Regions from separate parts of the Homo sapiens genome. Here regions 1, 2 and 4 are each linked to region 3. Evidence: promoter capture Hi-C in human tissues and cell types (Jung and others, 2019). All regions are on one chromosome and are shown on one strand. Each heading gives the region's core, a stretch centred on a gene start or on the middle of the fragment in contact. The rest is flanking DNA. Distances are from core to core; before and after follow the strand shown. Region 1 overlaps RUBCN (rubicon autophagy regulator). Region 2 has its middle 57 kb from the start of BDH1. Region 3 holds the start of DLG1 (discs large MAGUK scaffold protein 1). Region 4 has its middle 27 kb from the start of BDH1.

Region 1 (2,700 bases), core at 86-2,585, 380 kb after region 3:
GCAGCCGCTCGCAGCGCGGACAGCTTCCAGACTTGAAGCAGGCTTTATGGTAACACGCTTTACACTCTACTCAGGTTGGGAAGGTGGGGGAGAGAAGAAAACAATTTGTATTATCTCCAGCTAGAGGTCAGTTGCTGCCACAGCCCCTTCTCGCCACCAAGGCGTGGTGTCCCCTGGGGAGGCCCCGCGAGGTGCTGAGTGGCACCGAACTCTTGCTAACAGGGGTGGCTCTGGGGAATCAAGGAGCCCTGTGTTCAGGCTCACTTGCCCGATGCCTGCACCTGCCCTCACCTTCACAGGTCCGGCACTTATGGAGCTCAAAGGGAAAGATGATGTCATCCTCATTCTGACAGAACTCACAGATGAAGCCTTTGGCTTGGCAGAGCTGGGGAGGAAAAACACAGATGGCAAAATGAGGAGCGGCACATCAGGAACTGGCACGGGAGGGTGAACACCGAGGAGGGGAGTGGTCTACAGGGTTCTGCTGCCCACAGGGAGGAGGCCTGGGCTGGACTCAGAAGCATGAAAGCTAAACTAGGACCAGGGCCGGGCAGCGTTAGACAAAGCTTTAGGCAGAAGATCAGACAGGCACCAGCCGGAGAAGCTCCGACCCCCAGCGCGGCTCTCCATGAAGAGAGGAGAAGGAGGAAATGGCACCACAAAGGGCTTCCTAAGCCGACAGTCCCATCTGGGTCATGATTTTATTTCAGAATAGGAACCACAAGCAATTAAGATAAAATGTGGAGACGAGGCTGTTCCTCAAACACAGCTCCAAGCCTGGAGTCAGGTTGTAGTGAAGGATTTCCAGTTCCTCCCAGACACACAGGGTTTCCTACCTGTGCCCAGCTCGAATTATGGGACGGTCACAGGAACATAAACTGGGCATAGGCTAAGACAGGAAGTTCTAAAAGTGTAATTTCTGCATTTTCAACATGTTGAGTAGATGACGACAATAACGACGTGCGTTTGAGGAATACATAAAGTATACAAAACGCTGTCATACAAATTACCCCATCAACCCTCAAAAATACTGAGAAGAAAGTAAATTATTCTCTTCATCTTAGAGCCAAGAAAATCGAGGCCTCAGAGGGGACAAAGTATTTATTTTGGTCATAATGACTGAGAACAACAAATGACGGCCGAGGGTAGACTCCCTCTCGATTCCAATCCAGAGCTCTCCTCTCACATCATGACAACTGCCTTTTTTTTTTCCACTCTTGTCGCTCAGGCTGGAGTGCAGTGGCATGATCTCGGCTCACTGCAACCTCCGCCTCCTGGATTCAAGCAATTCTCCTGCCTCAGCCTCCCGAGTAGCTGGGATTACAGGCACCCGCCATCATGCCCGGCTAATTTCTGTATTTTAGTAGAGATGGGGTTTCATCATGTTCGTCAGGCTGGTCTTGAACTCCTGACCTCAGGTGACCCGCCCACCTCGGCCTCCCAAATTGCTGGGATGAGAGGCCTAAGCCACCGTGCCTGGCCAACACTTCTTGAGTGAAAGTCTACTCGGTCTTGCCCGGAGCTACCCAGGACCACAGCCAGCACCAGCTCCTCCCCTCACTCGAGGTTCTTTAGATCAGGATGATTTGGCTGCTCTCCAGGCTAAGGAACAGCAGCCCTTTCCAGTTCCTCTCCCAGTGCTGACTGGCCATTTCAACTTCCTCAAGCTAAGTGGCAAGAACCCCAGGTCCACCCCCCTCCCTGTATCCCTAAAAGCAAGGGCTCAGCTGCATGCTACAGTGAGACTTTCTCACCATGCATCTCTCCACATGGGTAGCCCCTGCCCTGGTGAGCTCAGCAAGCCGGGGCCCCAGCTCCCCCTTCCTGGTCGCAGTCAGGTCATTCAGTGAGTACAGGTGGAGGTCCTCTGTCAGGTGGCCTGGGACTGTGTCAAAGGAATCCAGAAGCCTACAGGGAGTGACAGGAGGCAGGTGAGGGAATGAACAGTGCATGTGCCACATCGTAGTAGAAGGATCCCTATCCAGAAACTGCAGAAAGTAATGAGGGTGGGCACCCATCAGCCAGCCCAAGGTTCCAGGCCGCCGCAGCCGTTCCACGCTATTAGGTGTCTGGATGGCAGGAGTGACTGATTTATAGGCTCCTGCAGAGTGGCCCATGTGAGACCCAGCCTGGGAAGAGAGGTGGCCTGTCCTGGATGGAATGACCACAGATCCCCTTCCAGAGAGAAGGACACAGATACAGTTACTGCTGTGGCCTCCTGTTTACCACTTTACAGTTCTGCAAAATCTCTCTACTCTCCTTCGTTACATAACAAGAGCCAAGCGCGGGGATGTGTCCCTTTCGGAGACAGCAACGTGGCCAGAGGGCTCTAGCTCCAAAAGGACTTACTCCTTGGCCAGTCGGCAAGTCTTGAACATGTTCTTCATGTGACACAGCTGGACCCGCAGCAGCTGAAAAGAAAGAGAGGGGGGCAGGAGTGGGAGGGAGATGTGAGAAGAGGAATCCAGTGTGGGAAGCCCAGGGCCTTTAAACCCTGGGGTTCTAGAAGCCTTGCATGCTGCACCCAGAGCAGACTGTCCTACGCTCTGACAACTGGCTCCAGACTGTCCTATGCTCTGACTCGACACCTGGCTTCAGATTGTCCCACACTCTGACTGACAACTGGCTTCAGACTGTCCTACGCTCTAACTCGACACCTGGCTTCAGACTGTCCCACACTCTGACTGACAGCTGGCTTCA
Region 2 (2,700 bases), core at 148-2,647, 310 kb after region 3:
GAAAGACAAGCTTCACATGTTCTCGTTTATTTGTGGGATCTAAAACTCAAAACAATTGAGCCCGTGGAGATAGAGTAGAATGATGGCTACCAGAGTCTGGAAAGGGTAGTTGGGGGTGGAGAAAATGAGCGATGGTTAATGGGTACAAAAATATAGTTAGATAGAATTAATAAAATCTAATATTTGATAGGACAATGGAGTGACTACAATTTATTATACATTTAAAAATAACTAAAAGAGTATAACTGGATTGTTTGAAACATGAAGAAAGCATCAGTGCTTGAGCTGACGGATACTCCATTTACCCTGACATGATTGTTACACATTGTATGTCTCTATCAAAATATCTTATGTACCCCATTAATATATACATCTAATAGGTACCCATAAAAATAAAAAATAGGCTGGGCACAGTGGCTCGCGCCTGTAATCCTAGCACTTTGGGAGGCCAAGGTGGGCAGATGACCTGAGGTCAGGACTTCAAGACCAGCCTGGCCAACATGGTGAAACGCCATCTCCACTAAAAATACAAGTTAGCCGGGCATAGTGGCACATGCCTGTAATCCCAGCTACTCGGGAAGCTGAGGCAAGAGAAATGCTTGAACCTGGGAGGCGGAGGTTGCAGTGAGCCGAGATTGTGCACCACTAAACTCTGGCCTAGGCGACAGAATGAGACTCTGTCTCAAAAATAAAAATAAAAATAAATTAAAAATAAAAATAAATTTAAAATTAAAAATTAAGACCAGGCTGTACCCTGAGGTAGTTTAGAAGGCTAAACTCCTATAACTTAGTCTTGGGAGGTCTCAAGGCTTAGCCAGCTCAAATTTTCCATTTCTCCAATAGAAGTTCTCTTATGAACTCTGAAGAAATTGCAGCATTTCTTTTGCTTTTAAATCTATCTACTTCTCCATGATTTTAGGAATACCCACTGGAGTTTCTTCTAATGTAGTGATTAATTCTGGTAAATTCAATATAATACAATTTAATTTAATAAAATCCAGGGAAGTGGGGTGGATGGGGAAAGCGGAGAAGTTCATCAAAGAGTACAAAGTTTCAGTTAGACAGGAAAAATAAGCTTTAGTGATTTATTGCATAGAATAATGACTGTATTAAATAATAATGCATTGTATATTTTATTTTGTTTTGTTATTTATTATTTTTGAGACAGAGTCTCACAATGTTGTCTAGGCTGGTGTCAAACACCTAGGCTCAAGCGATCCTCTGGCCCCATCCTCTTGAGTAGCTGGGACTACAGGCATGTACCACCATACCACACCATTTGTATATTTTAAAATTGCTTGTGTACGATGCTCACGATCTGGCTGACAGGATCATTCATACCCCAAACCTCAGCATCACACAATATACCCATATAGCAAGCCTGCACATATACCCCATTAATCTAAAGTAAAAGTTAAAAATACTTTTTCAAAATAACAAAATAAATAAATAAAATTGCTAAAAGAGTGGTGCATGCCTGTAATCCCAGCTACTCAGGAGGCTGAGGCAACAGAATCACTTGAACCCAGCAGGTTGTGGTGAGCCAAGATCATGCCATTGCACTCCAGCCTGGGCAACAGAGTGAGACGCCATTTCAAAAAAAAAAAAAAAAAAAAGAAAGAAAAGGGTAGATTTTAAATGTTCTCACAACAACAAAAAATGATAAGTATGTAAGATTCTTAACCACAGTTGATGTACCTCACAGGAAGAGCTTCTCTTTCAAGATGTGTAGCTGCCCGATGGGTTCTTCCTGCCCACTGCACAAAAAAATCAGTTCATGGAGACCATGGCACTGCAGTAAAGAAAGAGGTTAATTGACATGATGCCAGCCACACCATGTGGGAGGCAGAGTTATTACTCAAATCAAACTCATCTAAGGCTTGGAGGTTAGGGATTTTTCAAAGGTAATTTGGTAGGTAGCAGGCTAGGGTATGGGGAGTGCTGATTGGTTGGGTCAGAGATGAAATCATAGGGTGTCGAAGCTGTCCTCTTTCTCTGAGTCGCTTCTGGGTGGGGACACAGAAGCCGTTGGCTGGTCCCGGTGGAGCCATCGGTCATCAGACATGCAAAATCCTGAGAAGATATCTCAGAAGGCCAATCCTAGGTTCTACAAAAGTAACATTATCTGCAGGGGTAACTGAGGAAGTTGCATATCTTGTGGCTTCTGGAATAACGCCTCACAATTGTTTTTGTCTACACCTTAGCAGAATTTAGGCTCCTCTCCTCCTCCTAGCCTGGTGGTCTCTCAGTATTACAAGGGTGGTTGAGTTTCGGGGAAGGGTTATTATAATTTAAACTATCAACTAAATGACTCCCACATGTAGCTTGGCTTAAACCCAGGAATAAGTAAAAGCAGCTTGAAAGCTAAAGGCAAGAGGGAGGTTGGCTAGATCAGCTTTCTTTCACTGCCATTATTTTCTCACTGTGATAATTTTTGCAAAGGCGGTTTCAGATGTGATTGGATTTTTGGATACTGTGAACCCTGAATATCTGAGACTGGTCTCAGTCAATTTAGAAAGTTTATTTTGCCAAGGTTGAGGCTGCATGCCTGTGGCACAGCCTCAGGAGGTCCTGACGACATGTGCCCAAGGTGGTCAGGGCACAGCTTGGTTTTATACATTTTAGGGAGACATGAGACATCAATCAATATATGTAAGATGAACATTGGTTCCATCCAGAAAAGCAGGACAACTCAAGCAG
Region 3 (2,700 bases), core at 57-2,556:
GAAAACCCTCGCAGCCTATTTGAAAACCCCACGTTCCAAAGTTTTACCAAGTCAAAGAAAGAGTCTCAAAACGCAGCAGTTGTCTGTCAACGTGGAAAGCTTTTCCTTGGAGTGGGTACCCCTCCAAATTAAGAACAGACAGAAGTCGGCTTCCAAACTCTCCTCGAAAGCGTCCCCTCCCCAAAGAGCCTAGACCTGAGGCCGCCTCTTCCCCCGCACAAGTATCCACACTCCCCACCTGCTACTGGGTACGGGCGGGTGAAGCGCTCCGACCCTTGGCCCCTGAGCCAGCAGCGGCCGCAGAGCGCTGAGAGGGGACCAGCGGGACTGGCCGCCCGCCCTGCTCGGGCCCCCTCCTCTCGCTTGCCTTTCTCCTTGCTCGCTGCCTCCGGGCTGCTCCAGCGGGGGCCGGACAGGGCAGCGGCCGCTCTCCGCGACGCCCTCGCGCCCCGCATGCACACCTCCGCGGGCCCCCACACCTGCGGCGCCGCCACAAAGTTCCGGTGAGCGGCGTGCGCTCGGAACTGGGGTGCGCCCCGGCCAGACTCGGAGCAGCTCCCCAGCCCGGCCCCGCTCCACGTACCCCCGCCCCGCCCGGGGCCCGCGGAGCCGAGCGGAGGGGGCGAAGGGACGGGGGAGGAGCTCCCCTGGGCCGCCGCACCCCCGCGGCCTCGTCCTCCTTCTCGGCCGCGCCGCCTCCTCGCTCGCCGCGGCCCCCCGGCCCGCTCGCCCAGTTGCTGCCGCACGCCCCACCCCCGGAACCTCGCCTCCTTCCGCGCCCCCAACCGCTCTCCCCCGAAACTTTCCGCCAAGATGGCGGCCCCCGAGCTGGCCTGCCGCGCTCCCACGTGACCGCTTTCCCGGCGCTCTCAGCCAATGGGAAGTGAGGAGGCGGCTCGCGCCGAGCCCCGGGCTCCCCGCGCTGCTACCTTCGGGTTGGAAGGGGGAGGCGGGTCGGGGGAGGGCAGGGGAACGGAAGGGGTACCCGGGGAGCATCCTAAGGGAACCTCTTCGCTTAAAAGGGCGGCCGCTGAAGTGGCTCTGAGAACAAAGGAGTTAACACTCGGACTCCACAGGTGGCCCGGGGTGGCCCTGGAGGAGCCCGCCTTTACCTTGCCCTAGCCCACCGGCGCGTCCCGCAGTTCCGAACTAAACGCGCCAGGCCGGGAAGGCTCGGGCTGTCTGAAGAGAGGCGTGACCTCGCCTACACCAGATCCAAGGCGCACATACCGAGACACCCCTCAACCTCACTCAGCAGTGCCGTTTCCAACTCCGCGGCAGAGACAGCGCCTGGCGACCCCGGGGGTAGATCCCCACCGGGGAAAAGCCGCCTTAAGGAGGAGCCAACTGCACCTCCCAGGGGGCGGGGAGGGCGGGGCCTGGGAGAGGGAGAGGGAGGAGTTCGGGGAGGGGTGCCAACTCTGCATTGCCTTCCACTCCAGGCTGATTGTTAAGTTACTCTTCGTCCCTTAGTAATAGGCTTGGGGGGAGGGGTTTCATTACAGAAGGACATATGAAATAGAGACACTGGTTAACTTGGCAAGAGTTTGAGGGTTATAGTACAAGATTTTTAAGCCTAACTGATTAATTCCGAGTATGGTATACTTAAGGGTGGGCAGAGAAGGTTTGTTCATTCATTCGCTCATTCATTCATTCATTCATTTCCCTCAAGCCTGCGTCCCCGCCCGGTCAGCATCGCAGGTGTTACCCAAACTCTGACGGTCCCTTTAAGAACTCACCCGGAGTCGCGCCCTCCGAAGCTGAGCCGCCCTCGGCCAGCGCTGCAGGTTTGTTTCGTGCGCACCTCCGGGCGGAATTACCGGCCGGCTGGGACCCCGCTCCCGGTCTGAGCCACCCAGGTTATAGAAGGGGAATCTCGGGAAGCTTTCCAAGTCACTGCCCACGTCTTCGAACTTCCTCGGGGTGACGAGGACCTCCCTATTAGGAGGTCCAGAGAGAATTTGCCCAAAGTTACCCCGAGTGAGTGACAGAACTGGAAACCCGGAGATCCTGTCTTTCAAAACCGGAAGGCTCTTCCCAGTAAACCTGACGGCCTCTGACTGAGGCCGTATCCATTGGCTACCAAAGGGAAGGCCGAGGAACCTCGTATTGTAACCTTAACAGCTACTCAGAGGTATACTGACCACTGGTTTTACTTTTGGATTGCACCTTAGAATCCTAACTTACTGTAAGGACCCACCGACTTTAGAACCTATCTAGGACAAGGAACCGAGGTCCGGAAAAAGGGAAGCAACTTGTCCAAGGACATAGACGCTAATCAGTAACAGAGCAGCCGAGAACTCAGGTCTCCTAGCTCTAGTCCAGGGCTCTTTCTCTTGTGATTTTGGACAACTTGACAGAGAGGTATGTTGGTATGTTGGCAGCAGACCTCTGTGCTTTCCCGGATCAAGCATCCTGGGATCTTGAACAACAGTTAAAGCAACATTGCATAGAGAAAATGGGATAGAAGGGTCAAACGGTGCTGAAGGCAGAGGTGTCCTAACAGCCGGGAACTTAACAGAGGGACGGAATTTATTTAGTAGTGAAAGTGGCTCATGACAGGCATCATACTCTCAAGACTTCGCTGATGGACTGTGAATGGGATGGTTGCAGTAAGAAACCATTCTAACAATGGAATCTCTTCAGAATTCAGAAGAAACAGGGAGGGAAATTTGCCCTCTCCCTTGATAACATTTATTG
Region 4 (2,700 bases), core at 197-2,696, 280 kb after region 3:
AGAGATGCCACAAGCACAGCCTAATGCGGAGAAGTTCCTGGGGACAGCCACTCCGATCTACGCCCATCTTTCCTGGGGTCAGCCACTCCGATCTACGCCCATCTTTCCTGGGGTCAGCCACTCCTATCTACGCCCATCTTTCCTGGGGACAGCCACTCCTATCTACGCCCATCTTTCCTGGGGACAGCCACTCCTATCTACGCCCATCTTTCCTGGGGACAGCCACTCCTATCTACGCCCATCTTTCCTGGGGACAGCCACTCCTATCCACGCCCATCTTTCCTGGGGTCAGCCACTCCGATCTACGCCCATCTTTCCTGGGGTCAGCCACTCCTATCTACGCCCATCTTTCCTGGGGACAGCCACTCCGATCTACGCCCATCTTTCCTGGGGACAGCCACTCCGATCTACGCCCATCTTTCCTGGGGACAGCCACTCCTATCTACGCCCATCTTTCCTGGGGACAGCCACTCCTATCTACGCCCATCTTTCCTGGGGTCAGCCACTCCTATCCACGCCCATCTTTCCTGGGGACAGCCACTCCTATCTACGCCCATCTTTCCTGGGGACAGCCACTCCTATCTATGCCCATCTTTACCTAAGCTTTTGGGATTTCTCTAGCATTTCTGCTCCCTGAGGCTGGGTGAGACAAAAAGCAAGTGTTCTCTTTTTCCTGGTTCTGAGGGCAGAAAGCCAAAGGCAAGCCCTGAAGAACGGTAGAGCCCACTCTTCCTGGCTGTTCTTTACTATCTGTCAGTTCTCTGAGGGAAAGGATCTTCAAGGAAAGCACATCACAGGGACAAAGTTGTGAAAAAGTTCTACTCTGGAGTCTAATAAGAAATGAATGGCCAGGCGTGGTGGCTCACACCTGTCATCCCACCACTTTGGGAGGCTGAGGTGGGTGGATCACCTGAGGTCAGGAGTTTGAGACCAGCCTGGCCAACATGGCGAAACCCCGTCTCTACTGAAAATACAAAAATTAGCCGGGTGTGGCAGCACACACTTATAATCCCAGCTACTTGGGAGGCTGAGGCAGGAGAATAGCTTGAACCCGGGAGGCGGAGGTTGCAGTGAGCTGAGATCGCACCACTGCACTCCAGCCTGGGAGACAGAGTGAGACTCCATCTCAAAAAAAAAAAAAAAAAAAAAAAAAAATTAACATTTCAGTAGATCTACACACTTCTCAAGTCAAAAAGTGGTATCCAGTTCCTGCCACTACCTAGCTGTGTGGCCTTAAGCCTCTCCCACTGGACCTCTAGCTCTGTGTTCACAGAATGACAAGCCAGGCTTCGGTAAGACTGAAGATCGCTCAGAGTTCTCATTTCCATTTTTTTTTTTTTTTTTTTTTTTGGAGATGGAGTCTCAATCTGTCACCCAGGCTGGAGTGCAGTGGCGCGATCGCAGCTCACCGCAACCTCCACCTCCCAGGTTCAAGCGATTCTCTTGCATCGGCCTACCGAGTAGCTGGGATTACAGACGTGCACCACCACACTTGGCTAATTTTTGTATTGTTAGTAGAGACAGGGTTTCACCATGTTGGCCGGGCTGGTTTCAAACTCCTGACTTCAAGTGATCTGCCCACCTTAGCCTCCCAAAATGCTGTGATTACAGGCATGAGGCACCGCGCCCGGCCATGATTCCCACCATTTTTTGCCAGCCTGATGCCTGTTCAAGTCCCCAGGAGATGCGTATCTTGGGCACGTGAGCTGGAGACAAGACAGAAAGCCTGAAAGGAGCCGAGCATCCATTCCCAATAGGAAGCAGCGCTTGGGAGAAACTGCAGTGAACCAAACCGGTGAGAGGCTGGAGCTCTCCACCTAACTGATAATCAAGCTGCACGTTGAGTTAATTGTCTAATTAAATATCATCTAACAATTTATCACCGAACATTTTAGGTACATAAGACTCCCTCAAATATCATGAGCTTCTGCCGGTGAGGAGTGACTTGCCGTATTTGCAGTCGTAATTGCTTTGCCACTCTGCTAGGAGAAATTAATCTGACTGTGACAACTTAGTTTTGGCCAGGAACAGTAACACATTCCATCTAATGGACTTAAATTAATTAGAATCAGGCTTTGCAAGATGCCTCTAAAATCTATGGCTGAACAAATACGGGTGCCACACAGTGGTGGACACTTGTTCTCTTAATAAAATTACTGTATAAAAATGCACCATTTTGCTTCCGAATGCTCAATGGAATTTAAAGCGGTAGCAACCTCAGTCCTTACAGGGTGTTTATAACCTTGCTTCTTGACCACTACTCTATCTCTCAAGTCCTTTGGATACTCCAAGCTGTATTTTTGTTTTCTTTTTTTTTTTTTTTTTTTTCTGAGACAGAGTCTCACTCTGTCACCAGGCTGGAGTGCAGTGGTGCAATCTTGGCTCACTGCAACCTCCACTTCCTAGGTTCAAGCAATTCTCTGCCTCAGCCTCTCCAGTAGCTGGGATTAAAGGTGCCCGCCACCACACCCATTTAATTTTTTGTATTTTTAGTAGAGATGGGGTTTCACCATGTTGGCAAGGCTGGTCTTGAACTCCTGACCTCGTGATCCACCTGCCTCAGCCTCCCAAAGTGCTGGGATTACAGGCGTGAGCCACTGCGCCAAGCCCAAGCTAAGTTTTAGAGGTCTTTGAGACCCAGGCCAAAGGACTGCCCTGGAAAAGCAGTGACTCTCTCCAAGATCCAGGTCTATGGTGGCA

Evidence for each region. The method cuts DNA at HindIII sites, captures the fragments that hold promoters and counts their contacts. A contact is called where the count stands out against the background at its distance.
Region 1: a contact is called between a fragment that was not itself captured here and the fragment with the promoter of DLG1 in region 3, in 1 of the 25 tissues and cell types used here (dorsolateral prefrontal cortex).
Region 2: a contact is called between a fragment that was not itself captured here and the fragment with the promoter of DLG1 in region 3, in 1 of the 25 tissues and cell types used here (mesendoderm cells).
Region 4: a contact is called between a fragment that was not itself captured here and the fragment with the promoter of DLG1 in region 3, in 1 of the 25 tissues and cell types used here (mesenchymal stem cells).

Annotation. Positions count from the first base shown.
Region 1 is chr3:197,675,131-197,677,830 of GRCh38, forward strand. It overlaps RUBCN (rubicon autophagy regulator), which reads right to left. Exons shown (of 20, transcript NM_014687.4): 17 at 2,350-2,411; 18 at 1,755-1,908; 19 at 292-385; 20 at 1-66. Among named protein-coding and RNA genes, the nearest start is that of MIR922, 1.9 kb to the left of the region's middle. The HindIII fragment of the contact is 4,269 bases long and covers 1-2,700 here.
Region 2 is chr3:197,611,527-197,614,226 of GRCh38, forward strand. It overlaps the pseudogene SDHAP4. Among named protein-coding and RNA genes, the nearest start is that of BDH1, 57 kb to the left of the region's middle. The HindIII fragment of the contact is 3,475 bases long and covers 1-2,700 here.
Region 3 is chr3:197,297,306-197,300,005 of GRCh38, forward strand. DLG1 (discs large MAGUK scaffold protein 1) reads right to left here and starts at 1,307. Exons shown (of 25, transcript NM_001366207.1): 1 at 1,231-1,307. DLG1-AS1 (DLG1 antisense RNA 1) reads left to right here and starts at 942. Exons shown (of 3, transcript NR_038289.1): 1 at 942-1,305; 2 at 1,673-1,787. RefSeq lists silencers at 234-863, 1,354-1,483. The HindIII fragment of the contact is 3,262 bases long and covers 992-2,700 here.
Region 4 is chr3:197,581,507-197,584,206 of GRCh38, forward strand. No RefSeq gene overlaps it. Among named protein-coding and RNA genes, the nearest start is that of BDH1, 27 kb to the left of the region's middle. The HindIII fragment of the contact is 8,951 bases long and covers 1-2,700 here.